Linked DNA regions of Homo sapiens: all the other regions are linked to region 1. Evidence: promoter capture Hi-C in 16 types of primary human blood cells and fetal thymus (Javierre and others, 2016). All regions are on one chromosome and are shown on one strand. The core of a region is centred on a gene start or on the middle of the fragment in contact, and the rest is flanking DNA. Distances in the headings are between cores, read along the strand shown.

Region 1 (4,410 bases), core at 1,342-3,841:
CAATTTTTGGTAAAGTTAATTTTATTTTCACTCGAGTACTGTTAATCATCAAACTCACAAAATCTTATTTGAGGCCAGGTGTGGTGGCAAAACCCTGTGTCTACAAAAAAAATACAGAAAATTAGACGGGCGCAGTAGCATGTGCCTGTGGTCCCAGTTACTTGGGAGGCTGAGGTGGGAGGATTGCTGGAGCCCAGGAGGCTGAGGCTGCAGTAAACCAGAGACTGCGCCACTACATTACAGCCTGGGTGATAGCAAGACCCTGTCTCAAAAAAACAAACAAACAAACAACAAAACCCTAATTTGAAAATGAAAATACTTACTTGCATCAACCATTGATTTATATTCTAAGAGTTGTTGTTTTGTCTGTGCTCTCAGCCTGAAAACAGATAAAGAGAATATAAAGTCACATATTTATTGATTAAGGTTTTACTCATTACCACATGACGAACCAACTCATTCTTTTTCGGAAGCTGATACAACAAAATAAATATAAATAATTAAACTCCTAATTACAAACTTCTAATTTGGCCTCATTTTATTTAAAATGGGTATAAAGAACTTTAAGGCCTCAGAGGAAGACACAAAATGGAATACACTGGGAAAACAGCATCTGTCAGGAAAAGTTAAAAAATTGGTGTTTAAGATTTTTTTCTTTTTTTGAGACGGAGTCTTGCACTCTTGCCCAGGCTGGAGTGCAGTGGCGCAATCTCGGCTCACCACAAGCTCCGCCTCCCGGGTTCACGCCATTCTCCTGCCTCAGGCTCCCAAGCAGCTGGGACTACAGGCGCCTGCCACCATGCCCGGCTAATTTTTTGTATTTTTAGTAGAGATGGGGTTTCACCGTGTTAGCCAGGATGGTCTTGATCTCCTGACCTCGTGATCCACCCGCCTCGGCCTCCCAAAGTGCTGGGATTACAGGCGTGAGCCACCGCACCCGGCCGCTTAAGATTATTTTTAATAGGCCAGACTGAACTGAGGATGCTATACAAAGAATAGACCAAAATGATTAAACCCCAAACCACTGTATTTACAAACACAGATTTTTATCAGGAGATACAGAAAAATAACAAAGATACTAATCCTTGGATTACTAATTCATATAGTTTTTCAGTTGTTCTATAAATCCAAAAATCATACATAAGTAGAAAAACTATGAGCAAATGGTAATTTAAGATGACAGCAAGGGTGAGGAGGAAAAAACAATAAAAAAGAAATAGACATCTTTTCATTTTTCAAAACATTTAAGAAAGAAAAAAATGGTAATTAATTTTTTTTTTTTGAGTCAAGAGTCTTGCTCTATTGCCCAGGCTGGAGTGCAATGGCACAATCTTCTGCTCACTGCAACCTCTGCCTCCCGGGTTCAATCAATTCTCTTGCCTCAGCCTCCTGAGTAGCTGGGATTACAGGCGCCCGCCACCACGCCCAGCTAATTTTTGTATTTTTAGTAGAGACGGGGTTTCACCATGTTGGCCATGGTTGGCCAGGCTGGTCTTGAACTCCTGACTTAAGGTGATCCGTCTGCCTCGGCATCCCAAAGTGTTGGGATTACAGGCGTGAGCCACCGCGCTCAGCCAATAATGATTTTTTTAAAACTACCTCTGTTATGATATAGAACAGAGGACCGCAAATTTTTTTCTGTAAAGGACCTGATAGTAAATTTTTTAGGGTTTGTGAGTCACACGGTCTCTGTTTTAGCTACTCAATTCCACCCTTGTGGCAGGAAAGTTGTACTCCAATAAAACTGTTTATGGAAACTGAAACTTGAATTTCTAATAGAGTTCACGTGTTATGAAATATTTTTATGATCTTTTCCCTGCAACACTTAAACATAAAAACTATTCTTAGCTTGAGTGGTCACACAAAAATAGGCAGTTAGGCAGATTTGGCCCAGGACCTTCTCCTGCTCACTAGTTTAGAAGACGAATGTCCCTTCTCATCGAATCTTCCCCAGCAACCGCTTAGTGGAAAAGTATAAACACCGTCCGCTTAGTAGAATTTATAACATATAAAGCTTCTGGGTTACAAAGGGTCGTAGTTCTAAAAGAAATGGTAGGGGCACCTTCCTTCCAGTTTAGCTCTGGCATTCAATTTGTCTGTAAACCAGAGAGGTAGGGGGAGGGCGGGGAAACAGGAGGAGAAATTACAGCTTCTAAGGGCCCGGGGCACTGTGCTCAACACTTTCCTAGACTATCTCATTTAACCCTTGTAACCTCTCTCCAGGGGGTCATTTTTCTCTCCTTTTCGCTGATGAAGAAAGAGCTTCAACAGTTTAAGTGAATGAGGCAATCACGGAGACCTGACGTGACCGAGCGTGAATTCGAACCCTAGCCCTTCTGAGCAAGGGCGGAGTTCCGGGCCACAACGCCCACTTGGCCCCGGCTGAGGAGGCCAAAGGGAACAACCTGAGGAGCAGGGTCATGCGGTCCTCGCTGCACGCCGCCTGGGCGCCGGCGACCTGCGGTGGCCCGCCTGCCCGGCCTTCCCCTCCGGAGTCCGCGGGCTCGTCGGCGTCTTGCATCTGGGGCTGCTCCTCCATTGCTGGTTGAGGGGAAAGGCTACCACTCAACAGGCAAACGCGCTCAGAAAAGGTCGCTTTTCCCGCCACTAAATGGACGCCGGGAAAAGGCCCGAGGGCCCCGCCCCTTCCGCCCAGGGCCCCACCCTTTCCGCCTTGTTTTTCGGTTGCCGTGGTTACTACGGGCTCCTCTTTCATCCGGGCTCTACTGGTGAAAATAACTGCAGACGGCTGGTAAAAAGTTGGAATAGCTTTCGTTAAGCGTCGGATGTGTAGAGTGCTGAGTTAGGGGCTGGACTAGAGACGTTGGGACATCTCCCGGGAACAGCAGCCTGGAGGGGAAAAATCTCCTGACCTAAGTGGTCATTCGGCCTTGGCGCTTGGACACGGGAGTGCGGCGACAGCCATATGTCCATCCATCTTGGCACTTTTCCGTCCTCTGCCTTTGAAGATGGGTGTGCCCGGCAGGCTGTGAAAGATAAACATTAGAGGGTTGTTTAGAAGACTTTTTTGACCTGAGCCCATGAGGTGCATACCCTTTGTTTGGCGGAGAAACCAGTGGCTTCTGAAGATCAGGGACGGGCCACAAGTGCGAGGCATTGCAGACATTTCGAACCCAGACTTCCAGCCTGGAGACATCCACACGCTTCCAGTTTCTTGCACTGGTACTTCATTCTGTCATTATGATTGCCACCACTCGTAACTGAGAGTTGCGTGCCCTCAAGTTTTGAGTGTCTGCAGGGTACCTTTGAGCTTTCTTAGCTGTGTAGTGAGTGGGGGGAATGGAGAAAATGAAGGACAGATGACTGATTTGTAGTTTTTCATTTGGACACTGTCCTTGCCGCACAAGCACAGCAGCTTGAACCTCTTTGAACAAGAGTCGAGAGTTCTTTTACAGCTAATTACCCACTAGTTAAACTTGATCATACTGTGCTGTTTTCTTCCTCTCCATTGTCAATGTAATACGGCTCCTGACAAAAGTTAAATTCGCTGGGCGTGGTGGCTCACCCCTGTACTCCCAGCACTTTGGGGGCTGAGGCGGGTGGATCACCTGAAGTCAGGAATTCAAGACCAGCCTGGCCAACATGGTGAAACCCCGTCTCTACTAAAAATACAAAAGTTAGCTGCGTGTGGTGGCGGGCGCCTGTAATCCCAGCTACTCAGGAGGCTGAGGCAGGAGAATCGTTTGAACCCGGGGGGGCGGAGGTTGCAGTGAGCTGAGATCGCGCCACTGCACTTCAGCCTGGGTGACAGAGTGAAACTCCGTCTCAAAAAAAAAAAAAAAAGCCGGGCGCTGTGGCTCACACCTATAATCCCAGCACTTTGGGAAGCCGAGGGGGGAGGATCTCGAGGTCAGGAGTTGGAGACCAGCCTGACCAACATGGAGAAACCTCGTCTCTACTAAAAATACAAAATTAGCCAGGCGTGGTGGTGGGCACCTGTAATCCCAGCTACTGGGGAGGCCGAGGCAGGAGAATCCTTTGATCCCGGGAAGCAGAGGTTGCAGTGAGCCGAGATCACACCAGAGATGCACGCCAGCCTGGGCAACAGAGCAAGATTCCTTCTCGAAAAACAAACAAACAAACAAAAAAACAGTTCAAAAGACACAGAATGGACTGGTGGCGATGGCCCACGCCTGTAATCCCAGCACTTTGGGAAGCCAAAGCGGAAGGATCGCTTGAAGTCAGGAGAACAGCCTGGGCAGCATAGTGAGACCTCGTTTCTACTTAAAACAAAAACAAACAAACAAACAAAAAAACAACAGGTGTGGTGACTTAGACCTGTGGTCCCAGCTACTCAGGAGGCTGAGATGGGAGGATCACTTGGGCCCCAGCCGTTGAGGACTGCAGTGACCTATGATCGCACCACTGCTCTCCATCCTGGGTGACAGA
Region 2 (4,410 bases), core at 837-3,336, 340 kb before region 1:
TCAGAGACTAGCAGCCGTGGAATGGTTCTGGCCAGCTTGCAGAGGCTGCACGTGAGTGCCTTGTGTTCCTGCTTCACCTTTTTTTTTTTTTTGAGACGAAGTCTCACTCTGTTACCCAGGCTGGAGTGCAGTGGCACTGTGTCGGCTCACTGCAACCACCGTCTCCTGGGTTCAAGCAATTCCCCTGCCTCAGCCTCCTGAGTAGCTGGGATTGCAGGCGCCCACCACCACACCCAGCTAATTTTTATATTTTTAGAAGAGAAGGAGTTTCACCATGTTGGCCAGCTTGTCTCGAACTCCTGACCTCAGGTGATCCGCCCGCCTCGGCCTCCCAAAGTGCTAGGATTACAGGTGTGAGCCACCGCGCCTGGCCCCTGCTTCACCTTTTGATGTACAGGGCCTAATTGTAATACATTTAAATGTTAAGTCTCCACCCCAAAGTGAACATGGGATGTATGTAACACGAATGTTTGTTCATTACGCATGCATCAGGACCCCATTCACGGATATTCATAGCTCCTCCTATAACCTGTTGAATAGGAATGTATGGCCAACCTGTTCAGCATTAAGCTCTTGTCCCAACTCCATCTCCTTCTAAGTGCCTTTCAGTGTCTGCCAGAAGCTACGCTTCCAAGACTGTCAAGGATGGCCACCTTACAGGTTGTAACCCTTTATAATAAATAGTCTCCTTTCTACTTTTTTCTTTCACAGCTGGAGATCCTTTCTAAATTTATAATTGTGTCAATCTTTAGGTTGACACCACCAAAGGTAAATTCTGAAATTCCCTGAGAGTCAATAAGTTATTAGAGCTCTGGAAGGGGATGAGGTAGAAAAACCTTGTACTCAGTGAGGCTTACCAATGATCTCATTCAAGGCCCCTTACTTAAACAAAAATCCCTGTGAAGACTGTTAAATATACCTGTACCTCATGCCAGAGTTTTTCAACAGGTGTGCCAGGATGTCTTTGGTCGCCCAGCCTGTGAGCCAATCATCTGCAGTTCCAGATCCCCCTCAGTTTACTCCAGTATTTTGTACTAAGTCACCATTTTCCAAGTATGCCATGATGTAATGATAACTTGCTTACAGTTTAATGGTTGCAGCTTGAATCTATAAAATAGTGGTTCTCGAAATATGGTCTCCAGACCAGCTACATTAATATTACCGACCTAGGCCCCAGCCAGGCCTAGCGCACACATCATAAACTCCAGGGTGGGAGTGAGTGGGCTGTTTCAATGAGCCCTCCAGGTGATTCTGTTGCCTGCAAAAGTTTGAGAACTACTGACGTAGACACAATTCTCTTCTATGTTGCAGACCACTGTACCTCGTAAAGACCTACAAGTTAAGGGTCTCTTTTGCCTACAGTGATGCTCAAACCTGACAGTGCCTGGTTTTCTGGTCCAGGTGTCATAAAATAACCTAGAAAAACGGTGAGAAGGTTCACTCGGCATGAGAACAGCTGAGGGTACCTACTTTTATCACAGTGGAAACATTAGTTGATTCTCAGCCCTGAGAAGGACCTCTATCATACCATCAACACAATGGAAAAGGGAAGGAACACATCTTTCCCTAAAGGAGAGAAGGCACTTTGGCTTGTCATATCTATAAAGGGTTAGTCATTTGTGAAAAGGACACTAATGATCACGCAATAGACTATACTTCCTCAGGACTATGCCTCATAAAAAGTTGACCTTTACCCCATAAAAACTCTTATAAAAATCAAGAGTATCAGAGAAACTGGTTGAGTTTTGCCACCTCAGCAATTGCCAAAAGGTAAAAAGTAGAAGAGAAAACACATTAGGCCAATAAACATGACATGTTCAGAAGAAATATAAACCAAGACAACACTGATACACTTTTACACGTTTGACTGGAAAATATTATAAAGTCTAACACCACCAAGAGTTGCTGGTTTAGATTATATATGAAAAATAATTTGACATTGTCTTATAGAAATGTACACTCACAGGCCAGGCACGGTGGCTCACGCCTGTAATCCCAGCACTTTGGGAGGCTGAGGCGGGCGGATCATGAGGTCAGGAGATCGAGACCATCCTGGCTAACATGGCGAAACCCCGTCTAGACTAAAAATACAAAAAATTAGCTGGGTGTGGTGGCGGGCACCTGTAGTCCCAGCTACTCAGGAGGCTGAGGCAGGAGAATGGCGTCAACCCGGGAGGTGGAGCTCGCAGTGAGCCGAGATCGCACCACTGCACTCCAGCCTGGGTGACAGAGCGAGACCCTGTCTCAAAAAAAAAAAGAAAAGAAAAGAAAGAAATGTACACTCACAAACGCTGCATCCCAGAAGTTCCACTCTTAGGTACATAGCCAAGAGAAATGTTCACAAGTATAGGTGATTTAAAAATGTTCATGGGGCCAGGCGGGATTCACGGGATTACACTCACACCTGTAATCCCAGAACTTTGGGAGGCCAAGGCAGGTGGATCACTTGAGGTCAGGAGTTTGAGACCAGCCTGGCCAACATGGCAAAACCCTGTCTCTACTAAAAATACAAAAATTAGCCAGGTGTGGTGGCATACGCCTATAATCCCAGCTACTTGGGAGGCTGAAGTGGGAAAATTGCTTGAACCCGGGAGGCGGAGGTTACAGTGAGCCAAGATCATGCCACTACATTCCAGCCCAGGCAACAGAGCAAGACACTATCTTAAAAATAAATAAATAAAAAATAAAAATGTTCATGGCAGTTGTAATGGTCTTAATAATCCAAAACCCCATTAAAAGGAAACTGGATAAACTGCTGTGAAATGTGATAAAATAGAGGACCAGACAATGGCGACATCAGATGGACTTCAACTCCATCAACATGTATTAATCTATAACCTAACTCTGCGTAAAAAGGCAAATGCCAAGACACTACATGCAGGTACACCTTCTACAAAGTTAAAAAACACCCAAAACAAAATCATGTTGCTAAGTTATACATGTATGCAGGTAAAAACTTAAAAAGCAAATTATAATAAACTCAAAATTCTAGATAGGCTACCTCTGGGGGCAGGTAGAAGCAAGTAGATGAGAGAGTAAAAAATGTATAATGTAACTTAGTAATGTATTGTAATTATTAGGTGGGATGGTAGATCTGCAGGTGTTCATTATGAAACAATAAATGTACCAGGAATGCTATGCATGGACTAAAGGTGATAATGTCATAAACTAAGAATTGAATTAATCTATTTCTGTGCACCTGAAGTCCAGTTTTTGTTTTTAGAGACAGAGTCTCACTTTGTCACCCAGCCTGAAGTGCAGTGGCACATCTCGGCTCACTGCAACCTCCACCTCCCAGGTTCAGGTGATTTCCCACCTCAGCCTCCAGAGTAGCTGGGACTACAGGCATGCGCCACCAGGCCCAGCTAATTTTTGTATTTTCAGTAGAGACAGGGTTTCACCATGTTGGCCAGGATGGTCTCAAACTCCTGACCTCAACTGATCTACGCACCTTGGTCTCCCAAAGTGCTGGGATTACAAGTGTCAGCCACTGTGCTCAGCCTTAAAGTCCAGTTTTTAAAAAGGTAATCATTGGCCGGGCACGGTGGCTTACACCTGTAACCCCAGCACTTTGGGAGGCTGAGGCGGGTGGATCACCTGAGGTCAGGAGTTTGAGACCAGCCTGGCCAACGTGGCAAAACCCCATGTCTACTAAAAATACAAAAATTAGCTGGGTGTGGTGACACATGCCTGTAATCCCAGCTACTTAGGAGGCTGAGGCAGGAGAATCGCTTGAACCCGGGAGGTGGAGGTTGCAGTGAGCCGAGATCATGCCACTGCACTCTAGCCTGTGTGACAGAGCAAGACTTCATCTCAAAAAATAATTAAAAAAAAAAAAAAAGGTAATCATTAAGGTTTTTCCTAAGAATCTACTGGCATGGAAATGCTCAGTTAGGGTTCTAATCCTGGCTTTGTCACCCATATGTGACCCCAGGCATGTGGATGAAAATGCTTTCTGTTAATATAAAACCAAATTTAACGTAAACATCAATTTTGTCTATTCTCTAAAAATATTATCATATACTGTTAGAAAATGGCTTAATAGCCCCCTTTTACACAATTATGCTGGCCAAAATGTGTTCAAAAAAGGAAGAATAATCAAAAGACTCAACTTTCACCAAAAATTGTAAAATTTCAGAAAACACAATTTCAGTATTATTCAAGTTGACCATTTGGGAACAAAATTAAGTTAGTGTTTATCTCATACTATAATAAAAAACAAGCATCTCAATATGAATAAAGTTATGACATTTGGTAAATAGTAAATATCAATATTGGTCCATTAGTGGTGACAAATGCACCACACTAATGTAGGATGTTAACAATAGGGACAACTAGCTGCACTGTGGGTAGTGGCTCACACCTGTAATCCCAGCAGTTTGGGAGGCCAAGGCAGGAGAACTGCATGAG
Region 3 (4,410 bases), core at 1,264-3,763, 260 kb before region 1:
CGCCTGTAATCCCAGCTACTCGGGAGGCTGAGGCAGGAGAATCGCTTGAACCTGGGAGGCAGAGGTTGTAGTGAACTGAGATCGTACCATTGCACTCCAGCCCTGGCAACAGTGCAAAACTCCGTCTCAAAAAAAAAAAAAAAATTTGAGATATACCAGCCTGGGCAACATGGAAACCCCATCTCTTAAAAAAAAAAATTAGCTGGGCGTGGTAGCTTGCTCCTGTGGTCCCAGCTGCCCAGCTGCTCCGGAGTCTGAGGCTGGAGGGCTGCTTGAGCCTGGAAAGCAGAGGTTGCAGTGAGTTGAGATCACATCACTGCACTCCAGCTTGGGAGACAGAGCAAGACCCTGTCCAGGCGCAGTGGTTCACACTTGTAATCCCAGCACTTTGGGAGGCCGAGGTGGGTGGATCACTTGAGGCTAGGAATTCGAGATCAGCCTGACCAACATGGTGAAACCCCGTCACTACTAAAAATACAAAAATTAGCTGGGCGTGGTGGCTCACACCTGTGATCCCACCTACTCGGGAGGCTGAGGCAGGAGAGTCACTTGAACTCTGGAGGTGGAGGTTGCAGTGAGGCGAGATTGCGCCACTGCACTCCAGCCTGGGCAACAGAGAGAGACTCCGTCTTAAAAAAGAAAAAAAATTGAGGTAAAATACATGTATAATATATGTACAGTAAAAGGCACCAATTTTAAATGCTTAGCTTGATGGATTTTTAAATATGTATATATCCTGGTAAGCAACGAACCAGATGAAGGTATAGTACCCAGAAAGCTCCCTCATGCTCCTTCCCAGCCAATAAACCTCTCTCACAGGTAACCCCTATTCTGAATTCTATCATCAGAGGTTGGAGTTTCAAAATAACTTTCTTTTTTTTTTTTTTTTTCCGAGACTGAGTCTTGCTCTGTTGCCCAGGTTGAAGTGTGGTGGCGCGATCTCGGCTCACTACAAGCTCCGCCTCCCGGGTTCACGCCATTCTCCTGCCTCAGCCTCCCGAGTAGCTGGGACTACAAGTGCCCGCAACCAAGCCCAGCTAAATTTTTTGTATTTTTAGTGGAGACGCGGTTTCACCATGTTAGCCAGAACAGTCTCGATCTCCTGACCTCTTGATCCGCCTGCCTCAGCCTCCCAAAGTACTGGGATTACAGGCGTGAGTCACCGCACCTGGCCTCTCTTCTTTCTTTCCTTCCTTCCTTCCTTTCTCTCTCTCTCTCTTCCCTTCCTTCCTTCTTTTCTTCTTTTTCTTTCTTCTTTCTTTTCTTCTTTCTCTTTCTTTTCTCTTTCCCTCCCTCCCTCCCTTCCTCTCTCTTTCTCTCCTTCCTTCTTTCTCTTTCTTCTTTCTCTTTCCCCCTCCCCTCCCCTCCCCTCCCCTCCCCTCCCTTCCCTTCCCTTCCTTCTGCAGAGTCTTACTCTGTCACCCAGGCTGCAGTGCAGTGGCATGGTCTCAGCTAACTGCAACCTCCACCTCCTGGGGTCAAGCAATTCTCATGCCTCAACCTCTCGAGTAGCTGAGATTACAGGCGTGCACCACCACACCAGGCTAATTTTTGTACTTTTTTTTTTTTTTTTCTGAGACAGAGTCTTGCTCTGTCGCCCAGGCTGGGGTGCAGTGGCACGATCTCAGCTCACTGCAACCTCCACCTCTGAGGTTCAAGCGGTTCTCGTGCCTCAGCCTCCCGGGACTACCTCCAGGGACTACAGTGTGCGACAACACGCCCAGCTAATTTTTGTATTTTCAGCAGAGAAGGGTTTTTGCCATGTTGGCCAGGCTGTTCTCAAACTCCTGGCTTCAAGTGATCCACCCACATCAGCCTCCTAAAGGGCTGGGGTTACTGGCATGAGCCACCACCCCTGACCTAATCAATTTTCTATAATAAATATATTACCTATATACTTTTTAAAAAAGCTTTTTATAACTTTTATTATTCAAAAGAAGTCATTTTGATAGTCTATAGCCACCTTATTATTTAACACAATGAAAAGTATATTTTGAGTATCTAGCCACCAGTTATTGAGCAAGTATCTTCGTGGTGTTTTACATTATTTAATTTTCACAACAATTTCGTCAGGTGGTATTATCGCCACATCACAGTTAAGGAGGCTGATGGTTGGAGATGTTAATTTGTCAAGGCCACATAGTAAGAAATGGAGTCTTGGTTGTGATGAGCTCAGAAGTTCACCTTCTTCGCCTTCTGCGGGGCTAAACCATCCCTCCTGCCTTCTGCCTATCCCCAGTTTGTCTATTATAGGACAAGTAGTCTATTACATGCTCGAGCAGGTCTGTCATACTCTCCTTTAAAAACCCATTGAAAGCAGCCGGGCATGGTGGCTCATGCCTGTAATCCCAGCACTTTGGGAGGCCAAGGCAGGTAGATCACTTGAGGTCAGGGGTTCAAGACCAGCCTGGCCAGCATGGTGAAACCCTGTCTCTACTAAAAATACAAAAATTAGCTGGGCATGGTGGTGTGCGCCTGTAATCCCAGCTACTCAGGAGGCGGAGGCAGGAGAATTGCTTGAACCCAGGAGGTGGTGGTTGTGGTGAGCGGAGGTAGCACCACTACACTCCAGCCTGGGCAACAGAGCAAGACTCCATATCAAAACAACAACAACAATCCCAAAAAAGAAACCCATTGAAAGCATTAAAGTAGACAATTTTAAAGTGATTTTACAGCCAGGTGTGGTGGCTCATGCCTGTAATCCCAGCACTTTGGGAGGCCAAGGTGGGCAGATCACTTGAGGTCAGGAGTTCAAGATCAGCCTGGCCAACACAGCAAAATCACATCTCTATTAAAAATACATAAATTAGCTGGGCGTGGTGGTATGCGTCTGTAGTCCTCATTGCTCAGGAGGCTGAGGTGGGAGGGTCACTTGAACCCAGGAGGGGGAGGTTGCAGTGAGCCAAGATCATGCCACTGCACTCCAGCCTGGGCGACAGAGCAATACTTCATCTCAAAAATAAAATGTCTAAAGCCATTTTTGTAAAAATAAATAAATAAATAAATAAATAAAGGTGATTATACACACCACAAAGGTCTGGGAGGGTATACTGCAAACAGTATATACTGCCAGGGAATAGAATTGGTACTGGTAGGACTTTTGTTTTCTAAGCTTTTATACTCATTATTTTTAAAAATTATAATAGTTAAAAAAAGATGGTCAGAAAAAATTGTAGACTTTTCCTGTGTTGTATCTTTCAAATGTCGGTGCATCTCAATATCAGAAACAATTTCTAGAAATATGTACTTCATTACCACCCCCAAAGTCTCTACCTGTTTCACTGATTTCAGTATCTTTAATGCTAACATATCTGGGACAATAAAAGCATTTGACATATAACTGGCATATACTTTTTTCAAGTTTTAGATATACTGACATATCCTCATATTAATTTTCAAATTAGAATACATGTTGAAATAATATGGAAGGGCTGGGTGCAGTGGTTCACACCTGTAATCCCAGCACTTTGGAAGGCTGAGGCAGGGGAATTGCTTTGGGAGGCCGAGGCGGGCAGATCACTTGAGGTCAGGAGTTCGAGAACAGCCTGGCCAACATAAGATGAAACCCTGTCTCTACTAAAAATATAGAATTTAGCTGGGTGTGGTGGTGAGTGCCTGTAATCCCAGCTACTTGGGAGGCTGAGGCAGGAGACTAGCTTGAACCCAGGAGGCAGAGGTTGCAGTGAGCCAATCACACTACTGCACTCCAGCCTGGGCGACAGAGTGAGTCTCCATCACAAAAAATAAAAGAAAAAATAATATGGAAGAAAGAAAATGTACAGGGAAGTACTTTTCCTTCTGAATCTTGTAACTTGCCAAATGTAGCTATTACAGGCTAAACTGTGGCCTCTCAAAAAGATAACACTGAAGTTCCTAACCTCCAGTACCTCAGAACGTGACTTTACTTGGAAATAGCGTCCTAGCAAATGTAATGAGTTCACAGGAGGTCATGCTGGAGAAGGTGGGCCTCTCATCCAATATGACTGGTATGGCCAGACAGGGAGAAGGCCATGCGAGAATGGAGGATTGGAGAGATGCATCTACAAGCCAAGGAACATCAAACATGGCCAGCAAACCACCAGAAACTAGAAGAGGACTCCCCTACAGGTTTTTGAGGGAGCATGTCCCAGCTGACACCCTGCTTCCAGACTTCTAGGCTGCAGGTCTGTGAGACAACACACTTCAGTTGTTTTGAGCCACTCAGTTTGTAGTACATTGTCATGGCAGTCCTAGGAAACTAATATAGTGGCCTGGACTTTGAATTATTGCGAATAATGGGGGAAGGAGAAACAGTGAGTCACCTGAGCATCGTGACCTACGGGTTTTCAATGACTTTCCAGTTTATTTTCTGACAAGTGAAAATATTTTCAAGAACATGCACAGTGAACACAGGAATGCTAGGAAGGCAAA

The links. The method cuts DNA at HindIII sites, captures the fragments that hold promoters and counts their contacts. A CHiCAGO score of 5 or more calls a contact.
Region 2: a contact is called between a fragment that was not itself captured here and the fragment with the promoter of CENPH in region 1, in 1 of 17 cell types (neutrophils). The highest score is 7.9, in neutrophils.
Region 3: a contact is called between a fragment that was not itself captured here and the fragment with the promoter of CENPH in region 1, in 2 of 17 cell types (neutrophils and total CD4 T cells). The highest score is 6.1, in neutrophils.

What each region holds. Positions count from the first base shown.
Region 1 is chr5:69,187,764-69,192,173 of GRCh38, reverse strand. CENPH (centromere protein H) reads right to left here and starts at 2,591. Exons shown (of 9, transcript NM_022909.4): 1 at 2,406-2,591; 2 at 324-379. The coding sequence starts at 2,539. LOC112267932 (a long non-coding RNA gene) reads left to right here and starts at 2,697. Exons shown (of 2, transcript XR_002956215.2): 1 at 2,697-3,183. RefSeq lists a silencer at 2,540-2,659 and enhancers at 2,518-2,812, 2,740-2,979. The HindIII fragment of the contact is 12,435 bases long and covers 2,017-4,410 here.
Region 2 is chr5:69,522,959-69,527,368 of GRCh38, reverse strand. All of the region lies in intron 4 of OCLN (occludin), which reads right to left. Among named protein-coding and RNA genes, the nearest start is that of SNORD13B-1, 14 kb to the left of the region's middle. The HindIII fragment of the contact is 5,716 bases long and covers 1-4,410 here.
Region 3 is chr5:69,444,237-69,448,646 of GRCh38, reverse strand. MARVELD2 (MARVEL domain containing 2) reads right to left here. Exons shown (of 7, transcript NM_001038603.3): 7 at 4,317-4,410. Among named protein-coding and RNA genes, the nearest start is that of MARVELD2, 31 kb to the right of the region's middle. The HindIII fragment of the contact is 1,202 bases long and covers 1,913-3,114 here.